2 separate regions of the Homo sapiens genome follow, and region 2 is linked to region 1. Evidence: promoter capture Hi-C in 16 types of primary human blood cells and fetal thymus (Javierre and others, 2016). All regions are on one chromosome and are shown on one strand. The core of a region is centred on a gene start or on the middle of the fragment in contact, and the rest is flanking DNA. Distances in the headings are between cores, read along the strand shown. Region 1 holds the start of RAB30 (RAB30, member RAS oncogene family). Region 2 holds the start of BIRC3 (baculoviral IAP repeat containing 3).

Evidence for each region. The method cuts DNA at HindIII sites, captures the fragments that hold promoters and counts their contacts. A CHiCAGO score of 5 or more calls a contact.
Region 2: the fragment with the promoter of BIRC3 here is called in contact with the fragment with the promoter of RAB30 in region 1 in 1 of 17 cell types (total B cells); the score reaches 5.6 in total B cells.

Annotation. Positions count from the first base shown.
Region 1 is chr11:83,068,871-83,073,146 of GRCh38, forward strand. It overlaps RAB30 (RAB30, member RAS oncogene family), which reads right to left and starts at 3,027. Exons shown (of 5, transcript NM_001286060.2): 1 at 2,821-3,027. It overlaps RAB30-DT (RAB30 divergent transcript), which reads left to right and starts at 3,196. Exons shown (of 3, transcript NR_038903.1): 1 at 3,196-3,276; 2 at 3,753-3,934. It overlaps LINC02951 (long intergenic non-protein coding RNA 2951), which reads right to left. Exons shown (of 3, transcript NR_186233.1): 3 at 3,532-3,826. RefSeq lists enhancers at 917-966, 987-1,216, 2,980-3,469. The HindIII fragment of the contact is 10,527 bases long and covers 1-3,723 here.
Region 2 is chr11:102,315,304-102,319,579 of GRCh38, forward strand. It overlaps BIRC3 (baculoviral IAP repeat containing 3), which reads left to right and starts at 2,181. Exons shown (of 9, transcript NM_001165.5): 1 at 2,181-2,268. It overlaps LOC124902739 (a long non-coding RNA gene), which reads right to left and starts at 1,940. Exons shown (of 2, transcript XR_007062864.1): 1 at 1,783-1,940; 2 at 592-1,269. RefSeq lists enhancers at 1,628-2,827, 1,732-1,801, 1,812-2,171, 2,973-3,172, 3,433-3,482. The HindIII fragment of the contact is 7,438 bases long and covers 1-4,276 here.

The DNA of each region.
Region 1 (4,276 bases), core at 1,777-4,276:
CAACCCTTTTGGAAATGGCATTCATCACACTTGCAATTATTTATTAAGTATATCCCCTATTAGAATATAAGCTCCATGAAGTCAGGGAAAGCATTTGTTTTCACTGATGTATCCACAGTGCTTAGTACATGGTAGCTGCTCAATCAATATAAATTGTCAGAATTATAGGTTGGGGCCAGATTATAGAGGGCTATAACATCAGTAAACCAAAGAGCAAGGATCATTATCCCTTTGCAAATAAGTAAACCGAAGCAGAAAGAAATGAATAGTTATTTAAGGTCCCAGAGACAGCAGTGATGAGGCCAAATCTAACACTACATTCAGCCCATTTCTCCTCCCTAGGACAATAAAAGAAACTTTGGTGGGTAAGGAAGTATTTCAGAAGAAGAAAATTAGGAATGAGAAGATGGTGCATAAAAGGTCTAAGAGGACAGCTTCTGAATCTGCCTGTTACACTAGTTGCCTCCAGATGGATAGCAGTTAGACTTTCCACACCTAGAGGAGCACTGCTGTTACATAAACAAATATAGCCACTATCACACTCTTCCCGTTAAGAGAAGAGAATAAAATAACAAACTTCTTTCCTGCACAGAGGAGAAGAAACAACCAGGGTGGGTGGGGAACTGTTGTCCTCCAAGTATCTTCAAAAAACCAAATGGGCAGTTTGGCCACCTGGATTGCTACTCAGCAATCCACAGGGAACAGGAAGAAAGAGGGGGGAAAGATCAGCCTTCCCACCACCAGCTGCAGCAAGGATAAGGAAAAAAAAAATGTATTGTATAAGGCAAGCCACTTGAAGACTACTTATTCCTTGGGAATTATGAGAACATTTCATGTAGAGCATTTAAAAACCTTGCTAATCCATAGGCAGGTGCCAGTGAAAGGAAAAGTGGCATGAGCCCAACTGCAGCATTTCATTGTTCACATGCTGCTGGGGCTAAATTATGTCTGTCACAGGAACTACAAACCAGACCAGGGGTCAGGCTCATTGCTGCTCATCCTGCCAAGCACAGACTGCAAGAAAAAGAAAAGGCAAAGAAATTCTCTTCAAAGAGGATTCTGCAAAAATATTCACATAGTCTACATCCACCCAGGAGTTCCTAGTTGAAGTGGAGGACCAGGGAGTGTGTTCTAAGATTGAAGAGAAAGAGATGTGATATGCTGGTGATAAAGGAGGGGTTTTGAAACAGAAAGGAAAAATGTAAACTGCAAATGGAGAGATAGAGAAATAAACAGAATTTCAAGAGATGTGGGTGGGATGGGGTGGGGTGGGGGGAAGAAATGAAAGTACAGGAGAGAAGGGTAGGGTGTCCAGAAGAGCAGAGCGTCATCAACAGAGAGACGCAGAGGCAAAGGCTAACTGTTGATCTTTTCCCAAATCCAAAAGCTGCTCATTGGCATCCCAATAAATCACTCTACTACAAAGCCCATACAATGGACTGTCCTTTGCATTCAGCATCAAGCAGCATTTAATGAAATATCACACAGCTACAACTTTGGAGACCTAAGGATCTGAATTTAAAATGAACAAAATTGGCTTAGCAGCAGAAGACAGCCAGTAAAGAATTTCGCCCATGTCTGACTCAGCTAGGAAAAGGTTTAGCATTCTAGAGTTAAGCAAATACTCTGGCATTTCTCCTTCTTTTGACATTCCAAGAGGGGGTGTGGTTGACCCCAGGCCCATTCATTTCCAAGGGTGTAGATCTCTCAGCCAAGACTGGCCCCATCTGTTGTGGAGCCAGCCAGCTGTTTATCTCAAAGTAACATATCTATTGCCCTAATTATCCCTATAACTCTTACAAGAGCATCATGTAAGTCAGAATGCTTTCTCTCCTGTTAAATGTCAGTTCGTTTAAAAAAACAACAATAACAAAACAACCAAAATCACTCTTCCATGGGCACCTTTCAGTAATGGCAAATGAAGGTTAACAGCGCTTCTAACTTTCCCTTTCTCTAATGTGTTAAAATGAACCCCTCTTCCCTAATCGATCTCTTCAAACCGTTATTTGTGAGTAGTGACTATGCCTCAGGAAACAGCAGCTCATTATGGTACCATTGTCAGTGGCAAAGAGCCTATGCAATGTAATTTAAAACACACAAGCACAAATCTGTCGGCTCCACTTCCAAACAATCTTGAATCCAGCAGTCGGAGAACGGAAAACATTTAACAAAAACGCTGCTTCCAGCAGCCTGAAAGAACCTTCGCCAGACACGTGAAATGTTTCTGACTGGCACGGAGTGCACCATTAAAGGACACTGTCACCTCAAATCAGCAGAAAAGGCGAGACAAACCACATAGACATACACACATAAAATAAAGCCCTACAAAACTTAAGCACGTTCATCTTAAAAATTAATAACTAGTGCTCGTCCAAGCGACATTCAAATGTTCTAAAGTAGTGCGACCACATTAATTCACTGTCTCCATTTCTCCCCACGCATCACCCCTTCCCACTCAAACCTCAGCTCTCGGGCCGTGTGTGACAGGACTGCAGTCCCCCACCTCTGCCTTCCTCAGATTTTCCAAGAGCACTCCCCAACATCCTTCCCAGCCCAGCCCCCTCTCTCCGCCTCAAAAAGGTTGAGAGGAGTTGCGACTAGGGAATTGGCAGGCACCCGTCCTCTGGCGGGGGAAGGTTGCTGGAGTTGTTCTTTGCAGTGACCCAAATGGCACAGAGCTTTTCCCCTTAGCTGTGCCTGCAAGCCTCTCCCCAATCCCCCCCACCTCCCCACCGCTCACAGCTTCCCAAAAGAAAGCCTTGAGAACTAAGCGGGAGGAATAACTTGGTAGAAGCATTTGAATAAATCACTTCAACTCACCTGGTTTGGGATTTTTCTCCCCACCCCAGGCATAAACAGAAATGGATGTGCGAATGAGTCACGCACGCAAGGGAAGGTCTGCGATGTCCTGAGTCCAAGGGCTGGAGTCAGTCCCTGCCCTGGTGCTGCTGCTACACTTAGCTCAGCTGGAGCGAGCGGCAATCGCAAGCCCAGCAGCAGCAGGGGGTGGAGAGACCGTAGCACAATGAATGCAGTGGGGCTTTTGCAATGACATCATCCCTCTGTCCAAACGTCCCCAATAGCCATGCTCGGGAGCGGTGCTTTCTGGGAACTGTAGTCTTCTTACGTCCTGAAGGGATACCCAGGCAATCCCCGAAACTACAATGCCCAAAATGCTCCAAGTGGGACGCGCCCAGAGTGAAGGAGCAAAGGGGACTCGGCCGCCATGTTAGGAGTACTGGGACGATTCCGCGGAGCCGGGCAGAGGTTTTAGGGGTGCGCAGGAGTCAAGTGGTGGTTCAGTGGGGACGGTGAGGTGGAGGACGATCTGGTCGGATAGCCGCGGGCACGAACCTGGGAACCAGAGGGTGGAGGCCATGCTGGGGACTGATGTAGGGCGGGACCGACTGGAAGCGGCATCCAGAGGCCCAGTGAGCCTCGGTCTCAGCTCCTGAAGGGGTTGCATGGGGCCCTACGCTTCCTTCTCCATTTTTTAGCTAAGAGATTGAGAGAGTCGGTTTACTTTTGGGCTTGGAGTATCATTTAGATCTGTTAACAGTACAGTTGAGAGAGTTGGTGTCTTTTGTTGAGGTGCGAGGACCCGAGGCGGCGACCCTCGCCTTTATTCGGAGAAGCCCACTTCCACCCACAGAGTTGGGGTAGTCCTCCGAAATGCATTTTTGTTTTGCCGTTTGTTTTCCAACCCCCTTTCACTCTCCCCAAAGCTTCAGATTCACTGATTTTTCATACAGGAATGATTAACAAAGGCGTCCGAAGAAATCGTTGTTGGAAGGTGACCAAGGTGGAAAGAGACGTTGCTTTGGCCCTGCAAGTAAGAAGAGAGAGGGAATAGCCTGAAGGAGTAACACTAAATTTAAAATGACACTTTTTTACCAACCAGCGAAAGCAGATGTTCAAAGGGGATATTGGCCAGGTGCGGTCGCTCACGCCTTTAATCCCAGCACTTTGGGGGCAGACGCGGGGAGATAGCGTGATTCTAGGAGTTCAACCCCAGCCTGGGCAACATGCGGAGACCCCGTACCGTCTCTACAAAAACATTAAACAAAAAAATTAGCTGGGCATGGTGGTGTACCCCTGTAGTTGCAGCTACACTAGAGGCTGAGGTGGGAGGATCGCTTGAGCCCGGGATGTTGAGGCTGCAGTGAGCCTCGATCCTACCACTGTGCTCCAGCCTGGGCGACAGCAAGCCCGTGTCTCAGAAAAGGCGGGAGGGGTGGGATATTATTGATGATAGGCCTTCTGACGTCTGGCAATA
Region 2 (4,276 bases), core at 931-3,430, about 19 Mb after region 1:
GTCTGTAGAAATGAAAAAAGGAACAGAATCTGTGCTGAACCCTAACATATTATAGCTATAGGTAATATTCATGACTGCACACTTGAAAAACTTGCTTAAAATACAAGCTGCCACCCCCTTAAATTGTATTTGTAATGCAGTTATTAACATTTACGATATTTTTATATTGTATTGACCAATTATGCTTTAAAAGTAATGAAAACAATATCAATGATAATGTAATCAAAGAGGATTTTTTTTTTTTTTTTTTGAGATGCAGTCTCACTCTGTTCCAGGGCTGGAGTGCAGTGGCACTGTCTTGACTCATTGCAACCTCTGCCTCCCAGGTTCAAGTGATTCTTGTGCCTCAGCCTCCCAAGTAGCTGGGACTACAGGCGTGCACCACCACACTTGGCTCATTTTTGTATTTTTGGGAGAGACCGGTTTCACCATGTTGGCCAGACTGGTCTTGAACTCCTGACCTCAGATGATCCACCCACCTTCGCCTCCCAAAGTGCTGGTATTATAGGCGTGAGCCACCATGCCTGGTCAAAGAGGAATTTTTTTTTTTTTTAACACTTAGATCCTTATGATCCCAGAGAAAAAAATAGATTTCAAGTTCTAATATGTATTTGTTTCAGAGATATGTGACAGAGAGATGATAAAAGATGTTCAGTACAAACATGTATTAACATTCTGTAGGGGAATTGGAATGTTCAATGACAAAAGGCAATGATAAAATATTTTCAGTTATTAAAGATGACCTGATAATTGCTTCATGGATGATCATGTATGTCAAATTACTATGGTATTAGGATCCATCAAATACATTTAAAAGAGTGCTCTATCAATTTTTTCTGAAAATATCTATGTTTACATTTTGTAGATTCTTGACATGTACAAGAGCTTTATGTTTTAATGTTAAGTTAAAAATGGGCAAGGGAATGCAGAGCTTTTCAAAATTCTTCTGGTGAGTACATAATCAAAAATGTGTAAGGCCTGCAAATTATTTTCAATAATCTCAGGAGTGAGTTGAAAATGGCTTAGAAAGTCTTGATTGAAGCAGACTCAAATGTGGATTAAAATCTCCATATGATAAATACACTTAGTCTTTCTGAAATAATTCCAACTGGAACTTCAGCTGCTATGGACAGCCAAGTCCACCTAAACAAGAGGATGCCTCAGCTCAGTCCAATTGCGTGCAGAATGCACTGGATGCTGTTTCCACAGAACGATGAAGTCTCCAATAATCTTTATGGGCTCTGTCTCTGGTTGGTAATTGTCTTTGATCTACTGGAAGATAGAAAATCAGATGAGCTCTCCAAATCCATCTGTTACCCTGGTACGGATGGCTCTCAGATAAAGTTGCTTAAATTTACTGCTTAGAGAACGTTGAGGGAAATATGGCAGTGCAATTAGACTCAAAGATGTCAGGTTTCCCTGAGAATGGCACTGCAACTCAGAAACCTGCCCTGTGAGATCAAAGGCTATAAAGGAGGGATTTTTTTAAGTAGCCAACTCCACCCTACTTATTAAAAAAAAAAAAAAAACAACTCACCAAACCAAACAAAAGTATTTCCATACAGAAAATTTACCAAGCCATTTCAATCTTTAAAATGGTAAAATAAACTGCAAAGGAGAACTGCATGATTTTTTTCACATACCCCTACATTTCCTTTCACCTCTTACTTTCTTGATCAGAACAAAAAGTAAAAATAAATAGAAATATTTCACAAAGTTTCGATTTTTTTTTTTTTAAATGCTGGACTTCTGCAGCTATAGTAGAAGATTGAAAAACCTAACCTTTTTACGTGTAAAGTGTATGGCGGATGGAGGGTGGAGAACAGGGCATATTGACCTTTTCCAGGCAGGCTAAGCAATGATCGTCCTCTCTATATGGGTTGTTATCAAGATTTCCTCTGACCCACGAGCAATGAAGCAAATGTCTTTCAGTAAATGCCGCGAAGATATGCCACGGTTAAGAGTCATGCTTTTGGGTCATGGAAATCCCCGAGTGGGTTTGCCAGGCCACTGATTAAGAGGAAGTGTGTGTGGTTATTACCGCTGGAGTTCCCCTAAGTCCTAAAAGGAAAGCACCAGTGCACATGCAAACCACTGGGAGGAGTGCGGAACGCCTGGTACAGATAGGGGTGGGGATTTGGGTGACGCATTTAAAAGACAGCGTGAGACTCGCGCCCTCCGGCACGGAAAAGGCCAGGCGACAGGTGTCGCTTGAAAAGACTGGGCTTGTCCTTGCTGGTGCATGCGTCGTCGGCCTCTGGGCAGCAGGTGGGCAAGGAAGGCTGGTGTGTGTGTGTGTGTGTGTGCGTGTGTGTGTGTGTATGTGTGCGCGCGCGCGCGCCTCCCCTGGTGTAAGAGATGTGCCAGCGGCTGGCCGAGGGGCGCTTAGGGCTAGAGCCCGGGGCGCTGCAGAGGTTGAGAGTCAGTGGGTGGGGCGCAGTTATCAAACACCAGGGCCCAAAAGCAGGCTCTAGATAGGTTCCAGGTGCTCAATTTCTATTTCACGTTTGGAGTGAGCCAGTGGAATTGTGAAGTTGTGGCATTTTGATTCGGTTGCCAAGAGTTATCACTGGGCCTTTGCAGGTGCCAAATAAATTTCAGGACAGAGCCTAAGGCAGAGCTCTGGCACAGGAAGGAAGTAAAACGTTTAATGAGCAAATGGACGCATGTTTCCAAGCGGTGGTAGGAAGACAGCAGTTTTTGGTTGTCTTCCTGGTGATCAGCATGGAAACCTAGTAGTGCTCTTACTCTGATCAATACATTGTCGAAGGCATGTACCTGATGCTAACGTAACAATAATATTAAATATTGACTTTATTTGCTATTATTTATTGCTAACATTAAGTACTGCTACCTGCTATGTGCTAGGTTTGTCTCTGAAGACTTTACATGTATTTTTCACGTTTAATTATCATAATCTTAAGAAGCAGGTACCATAATTATCTCCATTTGACAATGAGGAAACTGAGGCTCTTGGAGATTTACTTGTGCAAGGTCATGCTTCTGGTTACCGGACTGCTTGGTATTGGGCACCCCCGATGTCTGACTCCAAAGCCTGATACTAATCAATCACTGAGCTGACTCTGTGGTCATTAATATAAAATTGATAGAAGTACTGTGGTCACTCAGGTCTCAGTCATTTACTTCTTCAACGGGAAGTCTTCGTGTCTACCCCATATACCAAGCTCTGCAGATGCTATGAGTGGGAGGGCAGGTACAGAGATGAAACATATTAATAGTTGCCATTCTAAAAGAGCTTACTGTCTAGCGGGAGGCAGAAAGAAAAGGCACACTTGCCCTCCAGTGTCAGAAAAATGGATGTGCTGCATGCCCAAAGGGTAGGGATGCCCAACAGCCCTGGGACTGGGGAGGTTGCCTTCTTGGTAGGTTAAATGAATGAGTCAGAAGAGGAGAGGCTGGGGACTGAGCCAATCTGAGAAGGAACCACTAGAAATGAAAGAAGAATCCCAAGAGCTTGGTATCAGAGAAGCCCAGGGAATGGGACATTTCTAAGAGGAAGTGTGTCCCAGTGTCAGATGCAAACATTTCCATTGGTTTTAGCAAAAAAGCCATTGGTGTTATTAACACCGAAAGCAGTTTTAAGTGATGCTGACTTAATGAGTAAATGGGAGAGGGAAAATGGAGACATTAACCATACACACATGTCCAGTTTGCTTGGCTGTGAAGAGAAGGGGTGATACAGGGTAGTTGCTAGAGTGGAAAGTGTGGTTGAAAGAGGATTTTTTTTTTTTTTTTTTGAGACAGAGTCTCACTCTGTCACCCAGGCTGGAGTGCAGTGGTGCAGTCTCGGCTTACTGCAACCTCCACCTCCCGGGTTCAAGCGATTCTCCTGCCTCAGCCTCCTGAGCAGCTGGGACTACAGGTGCATGCCACCACACCCGGCTAATTTTTTGTATTTTTTTTAGTAGAGACGGGGTTTCACCGTGTTAGCCAGGATGGTCTCAGTCTCCTGACCTCGTGATCCACTCGCCTCAGCCTCCTGAAGTGCTGGGATTACAGGCATGAGCCACCACACCCGGCCGAAAGAGAATTTTAAAAATTTCTTTCATTTGAAAGTTGAGATAGATTTAAGCATGGTTATGTGAAAGGAAAAAGGCCAGTCGAGAGTGACAGGAATGAGAGTTGAAGCAATGAGGGGATGGGATTAAGAACAAGATTTCTGAGGCAGTAGGACAGTGTAGGATCCCATAAGGGGGCAAGTCTTTAACTGAGACAGCAAGTAGGTTGTGAGCCAAAACGGCTTGGATATGAGAAC